Regions from separate parts of the Homo sapiens genome. Here region 2 is linked to region 1. The links are contacts of gene promoters, found by promoter capture Hi-C in human tissues and cell types (Jung and others, 2019). All regions are on one chromosome and are shown on one strand. The core of a region is centred on a gene start or on the middle of the fragment in contact, and the rest is flanking DNA. Distances in the headings are between cores, read along the strand shown. Region 1 holds the start of LYZL2 (lysozyme like 2). Region 2 overlaps ARHGAP12 (Rho GTPase activating protein 12).

Region 1 (5,143 bases), core at 1,762-4,261:
AGGACAGAAAGAGAGCAGGAAAGAAATAATCTCACAGTTTCCAAGGCTGAAGCCCCAGTAATTGTCCAGGCCAGCCCTCGAGAATATTTTTGCCAGTTTGCAACGAGTGTAGATTTTGGACTCGGCGCCTGTGACCAGGCAGCCAATGAGGGTCAGAATGCCCGCAGCCTTCATCCTCAAAGCCTGCCGGAGACAGAACCTGCCAAAGAGCCGGAGAACAGGTCAGACGATCTTGATTCAGGAACTTCGAAATCCAGCATCGGTGACTGTGCACAGCCCTGCCTAGATGCTGCCTGTCACTTTGGTCATTCAGTGCCACCATCAGGGAAAACCGGCCACTCTACGGTCCAGGGAAGGAATGTGACTGCAGGCTGTCTCCTTAATGCTTTTCCATACAGTAACTTTCAAGTCAATGCTGTGTTCTCAGGGTTAAGTAAGTGAAAAAATTAACCTTCCTTAATACACATCCAGGTGAAAACCACAAGGGGCATTTTTAGGATTTCTATTTTAATTCTATGAATGAAAAATAGAATACAGGGGTGAAACATTCCCTATACTGCTGACCCTTGAACATCATGGGTTTGAACTGCGTGGGTCCATTTATCCGTGAATTTTCTTCTGCCTCTGCCACCCCGAGACAGCAAGACCAACCCCTCCTCTTCCTCCTCCACCTCAGCCTGCTCAGTGTGAAGACCACCAGGATGAAGCCCTTTATGATGATCCACTTCCACTTAACAAATAGTAAATATAATATAATAGTAAATATTTACTATTAACAAATAGTTAATATTTACAAATAGTAAATATATCTTCTCTTCCTTATGATTTTCTTAATAACATTTTCTTTTCTCTAGCTTACTTTATTGTAAGAATCCAGTATAGACATAGAACGTACAAAATATGTGTTTATTGGCTGTTCATGTTATTGGTAAGGCTTCCAGTCAGCAGTAGGCTATTAGTCGTTAAGCTTCTGGGGAGTCAAAAGTTACATGCAGATTTTCAACTGAGCAGGCATTGGCACCCCGACCCCTACATTTGTTCAAGGATCAACTGGGTGTGTAGAAACAGACACCCCATTTCAGCCAGAGATGAAATACACGTGGACCTGAATGGAAAACTTTAAGATTCATCGTCTAGGCCAGGCGCGGTGGCTCACGCCTGTAATCCCGGCACTTTGGGAGGCCGAGACGGGCGGATCACGAGGTCAGGAGATCAAGACCATCCTGGCTAATGCGGTGAAACCCCGTCTCTACTAAAAATACAAAAAAATTAGCCGGGTGTGGTGGCATGTGTCTGTAGTCCCAGCTGCTCGGGAGGCTGAGGCAGGAGAATGGCGTGAACCCAGGAGGCTGAGCTTGCAGTGAGCGGAGATTGCGCCACTGCACTCCAGCCTGGGCGACAGAGCGAGACTCCGCCTCAAAAAAAAAAAGATTCATCGTTTGGGGGTTTATTGAAGGGTGAAGATTAAGCACCTAATCTTTCCTTTTCTTTTCTTGATGCATTTCAAAATGTGGGAGCATTGCTTCCAAAGTACTAGTGTTTTATCTTAGATTGCAAATGCATTGCTTTGCTAAGCTTCACAACCAGTGCTCCGGGCGGCCTCCTAAAAGTCTGGCACCTGACTGGGGAGCAAGAGGGATGGAGGACAAAGCCTCATGAAAGGAGGAAAGCACCTGGGGGAGCAGAGGGACAATAAAGAGGCCCCCATAGAATCGTCTGAAATGGGAGTAGGATCAAGAGCGCTGTCTCCTGCTGCCTACTGATTTTCCACAATCTCCTCCCCTCTTAAAATAATGTCTTCCCCAAACACAACAGCCTTGCTGGGATGGGGTGAAGTGAAATTTCTGACAACTACTCGGGATCCTGAACTTGATGTTCTTACATATGTTCATCCCGTGTCATTTTCTGCACTTGCCTGGAAACTTCTCTAGTCATTAGTTTCTCTCCCTGGGGCTGGATTCCTGCATTGAAAGGCTAGGCCCAAAACAGGGATAAGTAGTCATCAGCAAGGCCACCGCACCGAGTAACAAGCAGGGCTTTAAGGTGACTAAGCAATAAGATAAGGAACTGCATTGCATGAGGGGCATGTACATTACAAACGTGAATAGCAAGCGTGGGCAAACCAGGCCCGCTTTTGTATGTAAAGTTTTATTGAAACATAGCTACTCTCATCATTTGGTAATATATTGTTGGTGGCTGATTTCCTGCTGCAGTGGCAGAGTTGAGTAGCTGTGTTAGAGGCTGTATAGACCACAAAGCCTAACATATTATTATCTGGCCCTTTTCAGAGAGATCATGCCAGTCCGTGGTGTACAGCATTGTGCTAAGCTGTGAGGGACAGACAAACGAGGTTTAAGATGCAGAGCTTAGGCTGGGCATGGTGGCCCACACCTGTAATCTCAGCACTTTGTGAGGGTGAAAAGGGCAAATTGCTTGAAGCCAGGAGTTTGAGACCAGCCTGGGCAACAAAGGTAGACCTCTGTCACTACAAAATACACAAAAATTAGCCAGGCATAGTGGTGTGTGACTGTGGTCCCACCTGTTTGGGAGGCTGAGGTGGGAGGATCTTTTAAGGCTGGGAGGTTGAGGCTGTTGTGAGTTGTGATTGTGCCACTGCACTCCAGCCTGGGCAACAGAGTGACATCCTGTTTCAAAAAAAAAAAAAAAGATGCAGAGCTTACAAATAAGGTTGGTTTCCATCCTCTGCCTTAGAATGTTAACTGATCTCAAACAAGTCAAAACAAAACCCGTAGCAATGATAACCCCAAGCATCATGTTCTACATCCTTCAAGAACCTGCCATTGCTGGTTCTCAGGGACAGGTGGCTTCATAAGAGTAATTTAGGTCTTACTGAAAAGGCAGATTCCTGGTGCCTGCCGCAGAGGCTGACTTCTCAGTTGAGTCTGCGGAAGAAACACTGCTCCACTTAGTCGGTGACAGGCAGCTCAGGGGAGCGTCCTGCATCCCCTGAAGCCATGTCTGATTCTAACAAGGCTCGAGTAATCCTTTCCTAGCTCAAGAACCTTTCTTTAGAGTGTTAGAGAAAGAAAAATTCTTAGTCCTTTGTTTCTCACCACCTAGAGATGCTAGAATTCTACTTCTTGGCACTAAAAGCTATATCATCCTGCACGCTTGTGTTCTGAAGCAGGTGCTAACTCTCTTCTGGGCCTTAATACCTCTCGTTTTTTCTCTTTTCCTCTCAACAACTGTCCTCACTACACAACTTGGCCAGGGCCTCCCGTCCAAGTGAGAGCTCTTCTCTAAGGCAACAGTCTGCAAACTTTATCACAAATTCCATTAATAAAGTTAAGCATGTATCCTCTTTAGATGTATATTAAATTATAAATCACACTTCTGTACCTCTGTACTAATATGCTACATAAATTATCAACATACACAAAACTAAAATCTGAAAATGAATGAGAGGTGAAATTAACATTAAAAATTAATTAACAGCACATTTCTTTGCTATAGTTATATTGTTAATTAATAAAATATTGTCAAAGGAGGGCCACAAAAGAAATAAAAAATTTTTATGTATAATTAACATGATTTCATTGTTTTTTAAAAATTTGGCTTAACACTTTGTGACTCAATAAAGAGCTAGTTTGAAGGTCCATTTATTTCTGTGTTCAGATTTAATGACACATTTGAAATGAATTCTCATTGGAATATGTAGATCTCAGTATAAGTTTGTTGTTAGTTGTACCTAACTAATTATTGTATTTTATTAAATTCCATCTGCAAATAATGCAAAGATCTTGTTGAAATCTAGTTTTAAGTTTATATAGTATTACATTGTGTAGATATAACATATTTAGCCAATTCCATATTGACTCACACTTAAGGTATTTTTTTCTTCTATGATAAACATATTACAATTAGTAATCTTGTACATTTGTCATTTGTACATTTGCAAGAATATCTGTAGGATACATTCCTGGAAATTGAATTGCTGGGTTAAGGACTGTAATTTTGTAATTTTGCTAGATATTGCCAAATTGCCTTCCACGTGGGCTTGTATGACGAAGATGGCTAGCATACCCTATTACCAAAGGTTAAGATATTTGCTAATATTAGAGATGAAACATAATTTGTCAGCAAAGTTTCAATTTCAGCTTCCCTTATTTCAAGCTGTCTGAGCATCTTTTCTTATCTTCAGAAGCCATTTGTGGACTTTTTTCTCTCTCTCTCTCTCTTTTTTTTTTTTTTTAATTGAGACAGAGTCTCCCTCTGTTGTCCAGGCTGGAGCTCAGTAGTGTGATCTCGGCTCATTGCAACCTCCACCTCGCAGGTTGAAGCGATTCTCGTGCCTCAGCCTCCCGAGTAGCTGGTATTACAGGCATGTGCCCCCACGCCCAGATAATTTTTGTATTTTTAGTAGAGATGGTGTTTCACCATGTCTGCCAGACTGGTCTCAAACTCCTGATCTCAAGCAATCTGCTCGCCTCAACCTCCCAAAGTGCTGAAATTATAGGCATGATCCACGGCATCTGGCCTGTGTGCTTTTTCTTGTGAATTGTCTATAATACGAGAAAATACATAGGTTTTTCTTCAAACATCTTTTTCAAAGTGCTTTGAAATAGGAATTTTATAGTCAATGAGAAAATAGAGACAGATTGTCTTTTTTTTCAAAAATGCTTGTTTAGCAAGTTTTCGGATACATAGTAAATATACAAAAGCCATTTCTATTCTTATATACTAGGAATCAAAATATTTTAGATTCTTCTAAAATAAAAAATATCATTTACAACAGCACACACAAGAATATGACGTACTTAAATGTAAACCTAACAAAATCTGTGCAGGATATATATTCTGACAACTGTAAGACAGATGAAAAACTAAAGAAGACCTAAGTGGAAAAGAAATACCATGTTCCTGAATTTAAAAATTCTATGTTGTTAAGATTTAATCTATAGATTTAATGGAATTCCAATTAAAATCCCAGAAAATTGTTTTGAAAATATCAATAAGATGATCTTAAAACTTATACGGAAGGGCAAATGGACTACAATAAACAAAACTATTCAGAAAAAGAACAAAATTGAAGGACTCATTCTACATGATTTTAAGACAATATAAAGCTGTAGTAATCAAGAGAGAATGATATTGGTGGGAAGATAGACCCATAGACCAGTGG
Region 2 (5,143 bases), core at 2,644-5,143, 1.2 Mb after region 1:
TCACTCAATTTGAAATAAAAGTTGAGCCGTAAATAGGAAGAAAGAAACAATTACACAGTCCTCTAGAAATGCATTAACACAAAAGAGCCCCACATGTTTCACCTCGAGGAAAAGGAGAAAGACATAATTATCCATTTACTTTAAGATATATCAAACCAAAATTTCAACCCTTTCACAGGTCATTTCCACTGGAATGGCTGAACAGGGAGCAAATTAAAAGATTAGTAAAACAAAACAGAAGAAACGATCTAGAATGTTCACATCCGTGCTCAATTCATGTGGATTTTTAGGTTTCCTCATCAGAGAAGCTGAGGAATAATGTGTTCTGTGGCATTTGGGGTTCAGAACCATGTTGCATGGCTGCATTATAAATGTGGATGACTAAAATTTGCTTAAATTTTATAAATGGACTTTTCTTTCATCAAACATAAGATCCATAGGTTTTGTATTAATTTTAAAGAAACTCATTAATTGTAATAAAATATTGGTTACGGTAGAATATGAGGTAGACCAAATACATTTAGAATAATTTCATTTTAAATTTTACTTGAGCATTAGCACTTCAAACTCAATTACCAAAAACTTTTAGAAATAGCCAGAGCATGGATTCTAGAGCCAAAAAGCCAAAGTTCTAAACCCAGACCTGCCACTTGGTAGCTGTAAGACCTTGAACAAATTATTATACTTAAGTGTTTTATACCTCATTTTCTCATCTATGACGGGGGAAGGGCGAAATCAGAGCAATAGCTATCCCAGCGTTAAGGAGACAATATATACACAATCCTCTGCACTGACAACATATGTGGGATACAGAATGAGCATTCAAAAAATGTAGCTATTATATGTCACAAATTATAATTTTTAATGTTTGCATTACAAATAACTGAAGAGTAGAGTAATGATAGTAAGCACTCAAATATATAAAAAGCTTCAAAATCCCACAAGTAATGTGACATTTCTTTTTCTTTTGAAAGCTGGCTGACAATCCAGACACTGACACCTCAATCACTGATTTGTAACCAATGGTCAGATCACAATTCAAGATACAGCTTGCCACATTACTGCTTATTTTCTGACTAAATATCTGAAATAGCAGAGTCACAAACACAGCAAAGCTTTAACATCCTGAAAATGAATCAAGAAATGTATTTTCTCTATAATGCCCAAGTAATAAGCCCACTTTTCAGTTGAATGGATAAAACAGAATCTGTTGATTTTAATAACACCACTAATTAGACTGTCCTACTTAGTCCTCTTTTTCTCTCATAAGTTAAAATGAATCTTTAAGAAGATTTTATTCATTTTTATTTGCACACTAGCTATAACTATAAGGACTCTGGAAATTACCTCCTGAAATTCAGGTACGATACTATTCACATAATTTAAATGTATAAAATCTCCAAAGAGAAGAAATACTTACCCAACTTGTGCTACTTCCTTGAGTTTTGGTAAAAAGTAAAGATGAACCCTGCAACACCGCCCAAGAAGACAACCAGTTCTTTCTGTAATTATAAAGATGACCGATTAAAGCTCCAATCTCGAGTTCTTTCAGCCAAATTCAAAAAATTAAGACCTACTTAGCTCTTATCAATGTTATCTACAATTTACAGCCTTGTTGACATTTTAATTGTTTTTATTGGGGATAGATACTAATGCAATTTACAGTCATTTTATGGTTCAAACCTGATCATGAAGGCCCCAAAACAAATGAAGTTAATCAGAGAAGTTATCAGAAATAACTATGAATGAATGACGCATGTAATTATGTTCACGTGAAATTAATACAGCACTTTGTGATCAAAGACACTAATTTATTTTAAAGTCACACAAGTGGAATATTGTATTTATCAAGAATTCTTACTTAGAAGTAAAAATTAGACAAACACGCTTCCCTCACTCACCTAATTCTTTATACAGACTGTGTTACATTTCTTGGTGATCTGCCTTCCCCTAATTGGGCTGGAGTACTCAGGTAGTAGGTACTAGGTGCATTACAGGCATACAATGAATTGTACACTGATAGACCACACGACATTTAAAAACAAAATGTTTCCTCCATCACAAAAGCAACACATATACGGTATGCAAAAACTCTGAAAACAAAAATGTGTAAAGGAAAGGGAATCCCATTTCTTCTTCAATCCATACTCTAGAGGTAACCAATGTTAAGACTTTGGTATAATATGGGGCTTTTAAAGAAACTGTCCACTTATCTACTATCCTATCTCCAGATACAGAGGTACGCCTCACACAGCATATGTATTATCAGTTCACCCATTTAGAACTTTAAAGCTTTTGAATATTACACCCCAGCCAGATTCCCCTCAACTTCTCCCTTATCATATTAGAGATTTTTATGTAAATGTTTCTCTCTCATAGGAATTGTAAATTATTTGAAAAAACAAAACAGTTTTTATTTTTATTTTTTATCTGCCTCAGGCCTAGCACAGTACTTTTCAAACAGCAGGTATGAATCAGTGTTTACAAGTAGGAAAATAAATTAAAATTACCCTATATAAGGACACAGTTGCTAGGAAGATAAATGAATGTCAAATCTGTCTACTGCAGGGATTTATTAAAGCTATCCTTATAGCCAAACATATGGCCAATTTTATAAAAACCTCTAGGCCGGGTGCGGTGGCTCACGCCTGTAATCCCAGCACTTTGGGAGGCCGAGACGGGTGGATCATGAGGTCAGGAGATCGAGACCATCCTGGCTAACATGGTGAAACCTCGTCTCTACTAAAAATACAAAAAATTAGCCAGGCGTGGTGGCGGGCACCTGCAGTCCCAGCTACTCGGGAGGCTGAGGCAGGAGAATGGCGTGAACCCGGGAGGCAGAGCTTGCAGTGAGCCGAGATTGCACCACTGCACTCCAGCCTGGGTGACAGAGTGAGACTCCGTCACCCAGAAAAAAAAACAAAAACAAAAAAAAAACCACCTCTAAAGGAGGTTTATTTTCTGTTTTCAGAATGTAGAATTTAATATCTATCAATAAGACTTACCTTTTTTTAAATTACTTTTTATGTCTAGTTGAACTTTATGGATTAAGATAAGTGAAATAAAGTTAATTACTACTAGTGAAATAAAGTTAATTACTACTAAGTTTCTATGTTTCCATTTATTTCCTGTATTTTTTTGCTTATGTTTGTTAATGCTACTTTATTTGGTAAATGGTGATTCCTAATAATTACATCTTCACTGTGGACTTCTGCACATGCTTTACCATTTTAAATACTACTTTCATAATGCTTTATGCTCTCTCCCTAGGATGAACTTTGCTACTGATATCCCTAGTCTTGCTTTACTTTCTATACCTTTGACACACCTTATTGCTTTTTTTTTTCAACTTTTCTGAATCATCTTTAGGTGTTTCTTTTACATATAGAATTTAGTTAAGTTTTGCTTTTTTATGCTTCAGTCTGAGCACCTTTTTCTTTCAATAGATGAGTAGTCCATTTACATTTACTGATATTGATATTATAGATGGTGCTTTTTCTGTCATCATTATTTCATTTTCTGGATCTGAAGATATTTTGGAAGTATTTTAATTTTTTGTAAATTCATTTTATATTCTCAGTCTTCTATTTCTTTAGATATCATCTACTGACTCCCTACTATGAAAAATACTTAAATTAGCCTATTTCCACTTTAAGTAAGCTTTTTTAGTTCAATTTTCAAAATGAGAAAAACTGTAGAACTAGTAGATATATATCTGAGAACAAATATTGAATACATAAATAGTAAAATAACGATTATTGCCTCAAGGACTAAGCACTTGCGTGACTTAGTTGCAAGGTGAATTAGTCACATTTTTTTTTCCTGGAACCCCATTTTTTCTCCTGAAAAAACAACTGATGTACATACTATAGTTATTCAGACCTGGATATGTGGCACACAAACATTATCTTAAAAATAAATGAAGTTTTCAAAGAAAACAAATAATATTATTTATAGACAACAAAAAATTAAAACTTTCAACATGAGGCTGGGCATGGTAGCTCACGCCTGCAATCCTAGCACTTTGGGAGGCCAAGACGGGCGGATCACCTGAGGTCAGGAGTTCAAGACCAGCCTGGTCAAAATGGTGAAACCCCGTCTCTACTAAAAATACAAAAATTAGCCACGCGTAGTGGCACATGCCTGTAATCCCAGCTACTTGGGAGGCTGAGGCAGGAGAATTGCTTGAATCTGGGAGGCGGAGGTTGCAGTGACCCAAGATCGCACCACTGCACTCCAGCCTGGGCGAGAGAGCAAGACTCTGTCTCAAAAACAACAACAACAACAACAACAACAAAACTTTCAACATGAATGAACCTCAAGGACATTATGCCAAGCAAAATAAACCAGTCACAAAAGTTATACATATAACATATCATTCCACCAATACAAAATATCTAAGGTAGTCAAAATCACAGAAACAGCAGAAAGGTTACCAAGGGCTGGGGGATGGAGGAAGAGGGAATTAGTAGGTATAGAGTTTCAGCGTTATGAGATGAAAAGGTTTTAGAGATCTGTTGCACAACAATGTGAATATACTTAACACCACTGAGATGTACACTTAAAAATGGTTAAGATAGCAAACTTATGTATTTTTTTACCACCATAAAAAAAATTGAAGCTTTCAAACAGAAAGTAGAACTTTGGAACACCTGGCATCTGCTACAATGGATTTGACAACGTCCCAATACTTTTCTGACAGTACTGATGTATGATTCTTTGATATTATAAATAAAATGTGTAAACATTTGAGAAATGAGCAAAGTTAGTGAACTAGTATTTTACAAATGACCTACAAGATATTATAAAATTAAGCATGGGCAAAGATTCACTCAGGTGCAACAAAGACCAACGGCTTTTAATGTAACTGAGTATGAACCGTTCACCGGCAGTTTTTCAGAGTCTTCACTACAACTAACCCTCAACAAACTACCATTTGTAGAGTTTCGGAGCAGCAGGAAAATGCACAATTATCTGAACATATCTTAAAACATTCCTCCATTTTCCACCTTTAGTTGTGAAAAGGATTTTTTTCACATACTTCAAACAAAATAATATGTCACAACAGACTGCAAGCAGAGATGAAAATTCATCTGTTTTCCATTAAGCCAAACACTAAAGATTTACAAAAAAATGTAAAACA

Evidence for each region. The method cuts DNA at HindIII sites, captures the fragments that hold promoters and counts their contacts. A contact is called where the count stands out against the background at its distance.
Region 2: a contact is called between a fragment that was not itself captured here and the fragment with the promoter of LYZL2 in region 1, in 1 of the 25 tissues and cell types used here (dorsolateral prefrontal cortex).

Annotation. Positions count from the first base shown.
Region 1 is chr10:30,626,742-30,631,884 of GRCh38, forward strand. LYZL2 (lysozyme like 2) reads right to left here and starts at 3,012. Exons shown (of 5, transcript NM_183058.3): 1 at 2,852-3,012; 2 at 36-199. The coding sequence starts at 174. The HindIII fragment of the contact is 10,435 bases long and covers 1,272-5,143 here.
Region 2 is chr10:31,824,884-31,830,026 of GRCh38, forward strand. It overlaps ARHGAP12 (Rho GTPase activating protein 12), which reads right to left. Exons shown (of 20, transcript NM_018287.7): 11 at 1,421-1,502. Among named protein-coding and RNA genes, the nearest start is that of ARHGAP12, 100 kb to the right of the region's middle. The HindIII fragment of the contact is 4,381 bases long and covers 1,704-5,143 here.